4 separate regions of the Homo sapiens genome follow, and regions 2, 3 and 4 are each linked to region 1. The links are contacts of gene promoters, found by promoter capture Hi-C in blood cells and fetal thymus (Javierre and others, 2016). All regions are on one chromosome and are shown on one strand. The core of a region is centred on a gene start or on the middle of the fragment in contact, and the rest is flanking DNA. Distances in the headings are between cores, read along the strand shown.

What was found. The method cuts DNA at HindIII sites, captures the fragments that hold promoters and counts their contacts. A CHiCAGO score of 5 or more calls a contact.
Region 2: a contact is called between the fragment with the promoter of PCDHA9 here and the fragment with the promoter of PCDHB1 in region 1, in 4 of 17 cell types (endothelial precursors, erythroblasts, neutrophils and 1 more). The highest score is 7.9, in endothelial precursors.
Region 3: a contact is called between the fragment with the promoter of PCDHA5 here and the fragment with the promoter of PCDHB1 in region 1, in 6 of 17 cell types (endothelial precursors, M2 macrophages, M1 macrophages and 3 more). The highest score is 9.6, in endothelial precursors.
Region 4: a contact is called between a fragment that was not itself captured here and the fragment with the promoter of PCDHB1 in region 1, in 2 of 17 cell types (M1 macrophages and endothelial precursors). The highest score is 6.0, in M1 macrophages.

Annotation. Positions count from the first base shown.
Region 1 is chr5:141,049,806-141,052,780 of GRCh38, reverse strand. It overlaps PCDHB1 (protocadherin beta 1), which reads right to left and starts at 1,407. Exons shown (of 1, transcript NM_013340.4): 1 at 1-1,407. The coding sequence starts at 1,310. PCDHB1-AS1 (PCDHB1 antisense RNA 1) reads left to right here. Exons shown (of 4, transcript NR_105056.2): 3 at 1,611-1,902. It also overlaps PCDHB@. RefSeq lists an enhancer at 998-1,826. The HindIII fragment of the contact is 4,524 bases long and covers 87-2,975 here.
Region 2 is chr5:140,846,926-140,850,016 of GRCh38, reverse strand. PCDHA9 (protocadherin alpha 9) reads right to left here and starts at 1,635. Exons shown (of 4, transcript NM_031857.2): 1 at 1-1,635. The coding sequence starts at 1,521. All of the region lies in intron 1 of PCDHA1 (protocadherin alpha 1), which reads right to left. All of the region lies in intron 1 of PCDHA2 (protocadherin alpha 2), which reads right to left. The region is part of intron 1 of PCDHA3 (protocadherin alpha 3); the gene reads right to left. It also overlaps PCDHA4, PCDHA5, PCDHA6, PCDHA7, PCDHA8 and PCDHA@. The HindIII fragment of the contact is 21,410 bases long and covers 1-2,353 here.
Region 3 is chr5:140,820,204-140,822,989 of GRCh38, reverse strand. It overlaps PCDHA5 (protocadherin alpha 5), which reads right to left and starts at 1,377. Exons shown (of 4, transcript NM_018908.3): 1 at 1-1,377. The coding sequence starts at 1,214. All of the region lies in intron 1 of PCDHA1 (protocadherin alpha 1), which reads right to left. The region is part of intron 1 of PCDHA2 (protocadherin alpha 2); the gene reads right to left. All of the region lies in intron 1 of PCDHA3 (protocadherin alpha 3), which reads right to left. It also overlaps PCDHA4 and PCDHA@. The HindIII fragment of the contact is 13,774 bases long and covers 1-2,786 here.
Region 4 is chr5:140,885,587-140,888,607 of GRCh38, reverse strand. All of the region lies in intron 1 of PCDHA1 (protocadherin alpha 1), which reads right to left. The region is part of intron 1 of PCDHA2 (protocadherin alpha 2); the gene reads right to left. The region is part of intron 1 of PCDHA3 (protocadherin alpha 3); the gene reads right to left. The region is part of intron 1 of PCDHA4 (protocadherin alpha 4); the gene reads right to left. It also overlaps PCDHA5, PCDHA6, PCDHA7, PCDHA8, PCDHA9 and PCDHA10, and 4 more genes. Among named protein-coding and RNA genes, the nearest start is that of PCDHA13, 5.0 kb to the right of the region's middle. The HindIII fragment of the contact is 5,330 bases long and covers 1-3,021 here.

The DNA.
Region 1 (2,975 bases), core at 158-2,657:
ATAGTCTCGGCAGACAAGCTAGGTGGTCCAGTATCCATGGCAACAATGGTGATATTATAGCCTGAGACCTCCTCCCGATCCAAGCTTCTGTCAGTGACCAGTGAGTAAGAATTCCCAAATGTAGGTTTGATTACAAAGGGAAGGTCTTCTCTGAGGAAGCAGGTGACTTTTCCTCCCACTCGAATGTCCCGGTCTCTGATAGTGAAAAGGGCTACTACTGTCTGTGGTGGTGAGTCTTCAGGGAGTGGGCTGGACACAGAGGAGACCATCACTTCGGGAGGATTGTCATTCACATCCACCACTTCTACCAGGACTTTGCTGTGGGCAGAGAGGCCTCCACCATCTGTAGCTTGAATGTCAATGTCGTATGTTTCAATGGCTTCAAAATCGAGGGGTCCTCTTAGTCGAACTTCTCCATTTTGAGGGTCAATCTGAAACGTCTTGAGAATTGCTTCTGGGTTTTGAGCTAAAGAGTAAGTTATCGCTTTGTTGGTGCCCTCGTCTAGGTCCACGGCAGTCACCGTGGCCACCAAAGAGCCATTGGGGCTGTTCTCTGATACCTGGGCTCTGTACACCAGTCGCGAGAACTGGGGCACGTGGTCGTTGACATCCAGAACCACCACGTGGATGTGAGCTGTGCCAGACTTAGGCGGGGACCCGCCGTCCACCGCCGTAATTGTCAAGTTGACTTCAGGCTGCTCCTCTCGGTCCAGGGGTTTGTTCAGCACCAGCTCAGCATATTTAGGCCCGTGGCTGCAGAAGCGGGTGTGCAGGTGGAAATACCCATTGGCACTCAGGGTGTAGTTCTGGAGACCGTTAAGGCCCACGTCCAGATCCTGGGCGCTCTGCAGAGGAAAACGTGAACCCAAAGGGGTGCTCTCCGGAATCTTTAAAAGCGGCTCCTTGTTTAGGAAAACTGGGGCATTGTCATTGATATCAAATACCCTGACCTCGGCCCGGAAGGACTGCAGCGGCTCCACCAGGACTACTTCAAAGTGCAGAACACAAGGGTCGGCTTTGCCACAAAGTGACTCCCGATCCAGTTTCTCCTTCACAAACAAATCTCCCGTCTTGCGGTGGAGCCGGAAATGCATTTTGTTGCCCTCGGAAACCAGCCGCGCCCCGCGCGCAGCCAGCTTCCCTACCTCCAGTCCTAGGTCCTTAGCTACGTTGGCCACAAACGAGCCGCTCTCCATTTCCTCTGCCACTGAATAGCGGATAGTTGTCGCATCCCCCACAGATATGCACAGAAAAATGAGAAGAGATCCCACTTGCCTGTTTTGCAAAGATTTTCTGCGCGTACCCGCCATCAGTTCTCACAAGCGCGCTCTCTGCAATCAGAGCCAACTGTTGCGGATATACTTTCACTTTTCTGCAACAGGTTACTGCAACAGCTGCTCTCCGCTTCACTAGCCTCTAACTGCAGCACCACCAAAGGCTAGCCGAGCCCATTAAGCTGTTTTGCACTTGAAAGAAAATTTGCATTGAGCGACTCAACTCCCCAGTCTAGCGAATGTATTAATAGATATGTTCTCATTCCGGAGAGTTAGGTAGAGGTTGAAAGTTTGTTGCCAAAGCAACAACAGACTCACCTGTTAATTCCCTTTCAGGAAAAAAAGTCCTTGGGAATTGAGAAGCCAATGAGATTAGTCGTTCAAGCTGAAGTCATTCTATCTGCTAGCTGTCTGGAGCCACTGAAGCTGTGGGCGAACAGCAACAAGTTTAAGCTACATCTGCACACTCTGCGGTCCATCCAGAGACCAAGAAAGAAGCACAAGGATCCTGCAGAGTCTTCCGAAGCCCAAGCCAAATATATGAGGCAGGGAGCTAGAGAATGTGGAGGAAGTGGTCAGTAGGAAAAGGAATGGGAACAGACATTCTCCTTCAGAAACTTGAGGTCCAGTAAGTACACTGACAGGGGACTAAGCCAACTGACCTCTTGATTTGCACTACGCTATCATGCTACTTCTACGTATTCGCTCCGCCCCCCTCCAAATATCTGTATACACGTGCACAAAGGGAGCAGCTGGCTTGTCACTTATGATTATAATGGCAGTAGTATTTATTGGATATGATTTCCATGTACTGAGACTATGACAAGTGATTTACATGCATTATTTAATTTAATACTTGCAACAACTATATGGAGTAGACATTATTAAAAAAAAAAAAAGACAAAGAAAGTGAGATGGGAGAGGTTATGTCAAGGTCCCCTACCTAGCAAATGTTAGAAATAAAACTCAATTTAATTTTGTCTGACTCCGAAGTCTATGCTCTTAATCAGTACACTACTCTGCTTCCCAGATAATATAATGAATAAATCAAATGAAGATAAATATTTGGTTTTGGATTTTAAAGCAAATAAAATAAGATTGCTTACACATATTGAAAATGACCTAATAGAAATATAGGAGATATTTGTTGAGTTTCCTTTATGATCATAGGATAATAGAATGTTTAATAAGACATTTCAGAAAGATGAGATCCAGTCTCCTTCTCACCCACTCTCCACTTTAAAAAAAAAAAAAAACAGATGAAGAAACTAAGGCCCGAAGTGATGAAGTCACTTGCCCAATTCATACAGCTACTCATGGCAGTGTAAGAACTAGAACTTGTCTTCTGATGCTGTCTCATGCTCATTACCTAAAACATTTGATTTCTCATTTGTGCTCAATACTTTATGTCCCAGGTGCTATAAAATTATGGCCACTTAACGGAAATCTAACTATATTTTCCAATAGGAAAAAAAGAATGAAAGTAGAAAGTGTACAGAACATTAATTACATCCTGACATGAGGGAATTAATGAATCTCTCAATCTCTGTCAGTTATTTTAACACCTGGCTTAAGTGTGCATCCTTAAACAGTTTAGTTTTGCCTCTTTTGAAAACTATATATCTTACTTGAGTATGAGTAGAAATAAAACAAAACTATGTATCAAGTAAAGTGTACAGTAGGTAATCCTTTGAATTTTGT
Region 2 (3,091 bases), core at 386-2,885, 200 kb after region 1:
GTAGCTCGACAGCGAGCGCTCGCCCAACCGCCGCTCCACCAGCGAGTAGGACACCAGGGCGTTCTCCTGCGCGTCAGCGTCCCGCGCAGACACCGTGAAGATGTGGCAGCCCGGCGGGTTGTTCTCCTTCACGAACACCGTGTACTCGGACTGCGCGAACGCTGGTGCGTTGTCGTTCACGTCGGCCACCTCCACAGACACCCTGGCCGTGGCCCACAGTGAAGGCGAGCCCCCGTCCCGCGCGGTAACCACCAGCTCGTAGGCGGACACACTCTCGCGGTCCAGAGCTCTGTCCAGCACCAACGAGTAGTAATTCTTGTAGGTGGACACCAGCTTGAAGGGGACGTGGGGCGTCAGGGAGCAGGTAACCTGCCCGTTGGCATCTGCGTCTAGGTCGATCACACTAATCAGGGCAATAACTGTCCCCAGTTGTGCGTCCTCTTTTACAGGAACCGAGAGCGTTTTGATAGTCAACTGTGGAGCATTGTCATTTACATCCACAACTTCCACAAGAAGTGTACAATGACCAGCCAGGGGTGGGAAGCCTTTATCGACAGCCTCGACTGGGATCTTGTGTGCTCTACTTTCTTCAAAATCCATATGTCCTATCACTGTGATTGCCCCACTTAAGGGGTCCATGTGGAACTTGGATTTTATATCTGGAGAAACATCACTGGAGAAGGAGTAAATAATATCCCCATTCAAGCCTTCGTCTAAATCTGAGGCATTGGGGTGAATCACCAGCGTTCCGATAGAAACGTTTTCTGGTAATTTCACCGTATACAGGGTTCTGTCGAACACTGGGGCATTGTCATTGTTGTCCAGTACCGTGATGAGTAATTGAACGGTGCCAGTCAGCTCGGGTTTGCCTCCATCGGTGGCCGTGAGCAATAAATGAAGCTCCGGAGTTTCTTCTCTGTCTAAAAGTTTCCGTAATACAAGTCCAAGAGGTTTTACCTGCTGGTTGCTGGTTGGCACGTCCAGGAAGAAATACTCATTGGGGCTCAGTCTGTAAGTGAGCAGGGCGTTCTCCCCGATATCTGCATCGGACGCGCCCTCTAGTGGAAACCGAGAGTCAAGCGGCCTGGATTCCGCGATGAACAGATTCTTTTGTGTCGCTGGGAACACTGGAGGGTTGTCGTTAATGTCCTTCACCTCCACGTCCACATGGAAAACCTGCAGCGGCCTGTCTACGATCACCTCCAGGTGGATGCTGCACTCCGCGCTCCGCCCGCACAGCTCCTCGCGGTCGATCCGAGAATTCACAAACAAAATGCCATTCTGCAGATTTACCTCCAGAAGGTCCCCGCGGCCTTTGGAATCCAACTGGAACAGGCGCGGCACCAGCTCCGCCAGCTCCAGCCCCAGGTCCTGCGCGATGCGGCCCACGAAGGTGCCGTGTTCGGCTTCCTCCGGGACGGAGTAGTGGAGCTGGCCGCTCCCCACCACCCACATTGCGAGGATCAGAAGCGAGAGCAGTAGAGGCTGACCCTCTGGATCTCCTCGACTTGAGTATAACATTTCAAATACTCAGTCTTCTTCTAATTAGTGAAAATTGCCTCCAAATTAGAAGAAATCATCTGATTTCGTCAGTCCCATTCTGCTGTGTTCGCCATCGTTCAGCACAGAGAGAGTGAAAAAGAATTGAGCCTCTTTCCCATGGGAAAAGGGCTGTATTTGTCTGGATTCAGAGAGAACATCGCGGCAAAGAGTGACATCACGTGGCCCAAAGTGTAAGTACATATTTCATGAATAAAAATTTCACAGTTATTCTGCAAAACTTATTTCATTTTCTTAATTTTTTCTTAAGTAATGATTGTTGAAACAGAAGATCCCGTTTCTCTTGCTGGAGCCTTCTTAGCAGACTGACTGCCTCTAAAAGTTTTGTATGACCTTGATTGTGGTTTTCTTATCCCTGAGAAAACTCTCCACTTAAGTTTTAAATAACGACAGAAATGAAGTAACAATTAAAATGATTCCATTGAGCAATCACGAATTTTAAATTACAAAATTCTTTTGTTCTGGAATTCAGAATCTCCCATATGGCTCGAAATAGGATTCTAGTGTAAGAGAAATCCAGGAGTTGCAATCTCTAGTGAATATAGGAGCCCAGAAATCTACTGATGAAAAAGAAACTTAGTCATGTCTGGTAAAAGGAATCAACAAAAAGTAGCAACCAACTGAGGTAGTTTTCTTGAGTAATTCTATGAATTGAAAAGGTATAAAATATTGCAAGAAAAGCGAGAATTGACTTTAAGGTCTTGTGTTGCGTGGGGAGAAAATATATTTTTCTCTTTTGTAGCATTTATACAATCTGTTTCCAGAAATGTGTTGTTTTGATTCTTTCCAAGCTTTATAATCTATGAATAATCTCTTCTTTGTAGTCTCCAATATAGTTTGTGTAATGTTATTACAATATGTTTTAATTTCATTATTGCTCATCCTTAGTACTCGGGGCAATTTCTGTTTTTAAAGCTATGCTTGAGATTCTTTTCCTGACTAAGTTCTACAAAGTTTTGTTGTGAGTTTTACTATCTTATTCCAACGTCCAAGTCGATTAATTAAATCTAGATTTTAGTGTATCTCAAGTCTAAAGGCAAAACCGTGAGTGTTTATTGTGCCATTAATGTTTTTGCATATTTATCTTTTATTTCGTATTTCTACTGATAACAGCCTAAGAGGTGCATTTAACAATTGCTTCTGTCCTTGATTACTGCAGGAGCTTCTGAGTTTGTCTTCCCGTTCAACCTTCTTTCAAAAGTCGTGATTTATTTTGCTCAAGGTAGTTAAATAGCTCCCAATTAATTCTAAAGAGTGGCCAAATTCCTTAATCACTCATGGCCCTTTAGTTTATTACTCAGAAATCAAGAGATCTTCTTACATTGGTTTTCCTGCTTTCATTCTCTGCAGACTGTGTGTTTTAACCAAAGTGGACTTTTCTACTTGTCATATTGATGCTTTCTGTGTCTTCAACTTTCCTTATGTTTTCTCTTTCCAAGAAATGTCTATCATTCTCAATATTCTCCCGGGGGGAACTTACTTATTTTAAAACCACTGAAACACACCATGCCCCTTCAAGTATTTCTTCAAA
Region 3 (2,786 bases), core at 128-2,627, 230 kb after region 1:
GAGTAGTAATTCTTGAAGGTGGACACCAGCTTGAAGGGAACGTGGGGCATTAGGGAGCAGGTCACCTGCCCGTTGGCACCTGAGTCACGGTCAGACACGCTGATCAGAGCAATGACCGTGCTGAGTGGAGCGTCCTCTTTGACAGGCAGGAAAAGGGTGGTTATGGCCATCTCTGGGGTATTATCATTCACATCCAGGAGTTTCACTACTACTTTACAGTGTCCTGATAATGGGAATGTACTTTTATCCATGGCATCAATATTAATTTCATATGAGTTATAGTCTTCATAATCCAGTTCCCCGTTAACTTTTATTTCACCAGTATTAGAATTAATTATAAATTTGGACTTTACATCGTCAAGAACAAGATTACTAAAGAAATACACTATTTCCTTATTGATGCCCTCATCTGCATCTGAGGCGTTCAGTTTAATAACTAATGTCCCACTTGGTGCATTTTCCAACAATCTGACATTATAAATGGATTTATCAAATTCTGGGGCGTTATCATTAGCATCCAATACATTGATCAACAACTGAACTGTACCTGTTAGTTCGGGTTTTCCTCCATCAGTTGCAATCACTAATAAACGGTGTTCTTGTGTTTCTTCTCTATCTAAGGATTTCCTCAAAACCAGCTCTAAAAAGTTCGTTTCTTCTTCATTTGTTTTAACATCTAAGTCAAAATATTCGTTTGGATTTAACCTGTATCTCAATTGTGCATTTGCTCCAATATCCAAATCCGACGCGCCCTCTAGCGGAAACCGCGAATCTGGCATTCTTGACTCTAAAATGAATAATCTTTGTTCTTGTCTGGAGAACCTGGGCGGATTGTCATTGATGTCCTTCACTGCCACCTCCACATGGAAAACCTGCAGCGGCCTGTCCACGATCACCTCCAGGTGGATGCTGCACTCCGCCCTCCGCCGGCACAGCTCCTCCCGGTCGATCCGAGAATTCACAAACAAAATGCCATTCTGCAGATTTACCTCCAGAAGGTCCCCGCGGCCCTTGGACGCCACCCGGAACAGGCGCGGCACCAGCTCCGCCAGCTCCAGCCCTAGGTCCTGCGCGATGCGGCCAACGAAGGTTCCGTGTTTGGCTTCCTCCGGGATCGAGTAGTGGAGCTGGCCGCTCCCTGCCTTCCAGTAGGCAAGGAGAAGCCAGAGCAGCAGGAGCCGGGATCCCAGACTTCCTCTCCGGGAATATACCATCTCAATCTCGTTCCAATTATGAGCTTTCTATTGCATCACCACACAATGTATTTTGTAAATTCAATTCCCAATTAACTATATATTTTTTATATTATCGCCTTTCTGAGCTTCTTGGCACAGCCAAAAATGGAAGGTTCTTTTCCTTTCTGTCTAAGGAAAATCTACTCACTGTATTCCTTTGAGGCTGGGAAGGGAGAAAAACCTTCCGGTGTCCAGCGACATCATGTGGATGAAAGGGTAAGTGTTTTATTTTGTTTTGCTTTATTTAGCTTATATTCGTCAATATTTCTCAAGTATTCTCACTTTCAATGACATGATTCTTATTCTTTAAATCACTTATCTCTAGTCAAAATATATCATTAAACTCTATCTTAAAATGCGTCAATATAAGTGCGTCATTAAAATATTACAGAAAAATACATCTAAAGTCATGAAACCCCAATCCTTACTAGAGAAATTTGTGCTGGTGTATTTTATATAGGGAGGAGTTTATATATTTCCAAACTGATAAAAATAACTTTTAAGAGTTAAAGTTTTGACTTTTCTCATCTCTATTTAAACATATCTAATTAAAACTTTTGAGTTTTTTCTGTATTAGTCAATGGAATGTTTGTATGCTATCTCCGTGTTACTCATAAAACAAATTTTTATTCCAATTTCACTGTTTAATAGTGACATTTTGTTGATGTTATTTTCAAAAACAACTAAAACTATTTTAATGGCATTCTTACCTGAGTTTCTTCTCGGAGTTCTAATTTTCAAATCGATGAAAACCTATTTCTTTATCTATAACACCTATCTACTTTTTGTATTGACTCAAAAACTGTAATGGGGATATTTCAGCTTTCTAGAAATCAAAAGCATAATAGAACGACTTTGGTAAATCGTCTTTGCACTATTTTCAAATTAGAAGCATCTAGATAGCATTTCTTCAAGTTGCTATTACTGATAAAGCAATTATTAAAAATTGTAAAATACATACCTTTGTACTTACATAACAAGTCAAAATCCTAATATTGTCTATATGACATACTATTTCACAAAATGTTTAGGTTCCAGTAAATATAATCATGTTGAAAAGAATATCATTTTATTAACCAGGCTATCTTTATATTAGTTTAATTACTTTTTAATCTCCCAACTGTTTACTGGATGGTATGATTTGAACACGACCTAGAAAATTTAGTAAACTTCACTTAATAAATATGGGCAAAAGAAAATATCACCAAGTTTTCTATTGAAGAAATAGCTAACATTCTGCTTGTATATATACTCCATAAAATTCCTTAAATATTACAAAATATCCCTTACCTGTGAAGACAAGAGGGACCAAGAGATTAGCAATTCTATTGTTGGATACTTTTACATTTAAAATATAGCTTGATAAGAAAAAAGAAATTACCAGAAAATGCAAAGTCAGAGGAAATTCACTTGATTTCTGGAATTCAAACTTGTAAAGAAACAAGATATTGTCATAGAATTGTTTCTGATACAATCTTTAAAGATATATTTACCAGTTCCCTTATAAGATTTTTACTATCTCTATTATCATGACTTTTCACTAATATTTGG
Region 4 (3,021 bases), core at 28-2,527, 160 kb after region 1:
ACTAAAAGCTGCTCTGAATGTGTACTAACAAATCTTAAAATGAAGCCTTGAAAGGAATAAATTGGTACTGAGCAACTTAACTTCACGTCAGAACTAAGTCCAAGACTCTTTAAAGCAGAGTTTCTCAACAGTGGAACTACTGACATTTTGAGCTAATTCTTTATTGTTGGGCGGCTGTCCTGTGCACGGTAGGATGTTTGGCAGCAATTGGATGGTGTTTAGCAGCATCTCAGAGCTCCATTATTAGATGCCAGTAGCAATTCCCTAGTTGTAATAACCAAAAATGTATCCAGGCATTGCCAAATTATCTCCTGGGTAGGGGGTAGAGGGGACAAAACTGTTTCTTATCAAGAACTACTGCTTTAAAGGAACACGCACACACATGCACACACACACAAAATCCAGCATCCGACAATGTAAAATTCACAATGTCTAGCATCTTATTAGAGATTACCAGTCATGCAAAACAGCAAGAAAATATATCCATAGAAGAAGATAGATTAAAAGAAGCAAACTAAGGACAAAAATGTTGAAATTAGCAGACAAGAAAGTTAAAACATCTATTATACATGTACTAATATGCTCAAACATATAGATAAAAAGATGACTATTCGGTGGAGACATGTAAAATAAATTTTAAAAGAGACAAAAAGAATCTTATACAGATAAGAAATAAATATGGTCTCTGAAATGAAGAATACACTGTTTAGGATTAACAGATATGATACTACAAAAGGAAAAATTAGTGAACTTGGAAAATATGTCAATAAAAGATATTCAAAATGAGGCACAGAGAAAGAAATGGACAAAAATAAAGAACGCTTCAATGACCTGTGTCATTGTAACATATGTGTTACTGGAGTCTCAGAAAGGATGGAAGGAAAGAAAAAACTATTAGAAGAAGTATGGTTGATTTTTTCCTGAATTTGATGAAAATGATAAATCCACAGATCCAAGAATATCAACAAACCCCAACAGACTAACATAAAGAAAACCATACTAAAGCACATCACAATCAATCTGCAAAAGTCAGGATAAAAAGAAAAGTTTTAACAGTAACCATGAGGGGTGGGGAGAGGAAGACTCATATATAAAAAAGCAAACATCTTATTAGAAACTATGCAAGCCAGAAGACAACTGAATTATATCTTTTAAAAAACTGTCAACTATGCCCAGTGAAAATACTTTTTCAAAAATAAAAATGAGATAAAGAGCCGGGCGCGGTGGCTCACACCTGTAATCCCAGCACTTTGGGAGGCCGAGCCAGGTGGATCACGAGGTCAGGAGTTCGAGACTATCCTGGCTAACAAGATGAAACCCCATCTCTACTAAAAATACAAAAAATTAGCAGGGCGTGGTGGCGGGCGCCGGTAGTCTCAGCTACTCGGGAGGCTGAGGCAGGAGAATGGCGTGAACCCGGGAGGTGGAGCTTGCAGTGAGCCGAGATCACGCCACTGTACTCCAGCCTGGGCGACAGAGTGAGACTCCGTCTCAAAAAAAAAAAAAGAGATAAAGATATTTCTCAGACAAAAGCTGAGTGAATTTGTTGCCAGAACATATGCACTATAAAAAATATTAAAGAAATTTTTCAGGCAGTAGGAAAGTGATACCAACTGGAAATTTGGATTTACAAAATAATAAATTTCGTTGCTAAATGTCTAATGTGTAGAACATGCCTGGCACATAGAGAACACTCAATAAGTATTTATTAAATGCATTTAATTAATGAATGTTCAATATAGGAGTTGGGAAGACCTTTCTTTTTTTTTTTTTTTTTTTTCAAGACGAAGTCTTGCTCTGTCACCCAGAGCTGGAGTACAGTAGCATGATCTCATCTCACTGCAACCTCCACCTCCCGGGTTCAAGCAATTCTCTTGCTTCAGCCTCCCAAGTAGCTGGGATTACAGGCGCGTGCCACCATGCCTCGCTAATTTTTGTATTTTTAGTAGAGACAGGGTTTCACCATGTTGGCCAGGCTGGTCTCGGACTCCTGATCTCCTGATCCGCCCACCTTGGCCTCCCAAAGTGCTGGGATTACAGGCGTGAGCCACCGTGCCCAGCTGGGAAGACCTTTCTAACTGAATATGCAGACCTTAAAATCCATAAAAGGAAAAAGATATATTTTAATTCATACATTTTAAAAACATTTATATATGACAAAATTAGTACAAACAAATGAATAGAAATAATATAGGAGGAAAACATATTTGTGATGCAGATAATAGATAAGCACACCATGGCATGTACACCTATGTAACAAACCTGCACGTTCTGCACATGTATCCCAGAACTTAAAGTGTAATAAAAAATAAATAAATATAAAAATAATTTTAAAAAATTTTATCTATAAATAGAGATACTTTTATTTATTTCTGAAGTAAAAGTAACAAAATTAGAGAAATGGAGAACAGATTACTGCTTGCCAGCATTAGGCAGGGAAGCAGATGTGGCTATAAAAAGGTGATATCAAGAATCTGGTTGTTACGGAACTATGTTACTTCTTTACTGTATCAATGTCAATATCCAGGTTGTGGTATGGCCCTACGCTTTTGTAAGATGTTACTATTGGGGAAAACTTAGTGAAGAATACATAGCATCTCCCTTTACTATTTCTTTCAACCACATGCGAATCTATAATTATCTCAAAATAAAAATTTTAATTAAAAATGTCAAAAAATAGATAAACAGTTAATATCTATAAGGTACAGAGAACTTTTCCAAACTGAAACTAAAAATTTTTTTTCAATAGAAAAGTAGGCAAATAACTTAATGGATAAATCAAAGAAGATCAAATACAAATCAACAAAATACATATGACAATATGCTCAAATTCACTAATACTATACAGGAATTTAAAATTAAAGTAACAGTGAAATATCATTTCACAGAGATCACATTAGCAGAAAGTAAAACCACTATTGCTTCTTGAGATAGAAAGAGTGCTCATAACTGGTTGGTTCCAAAATACTTGGAAGGCAATCCAGTGACATATTTTATAATTAAAATTATTAATATCTTTGA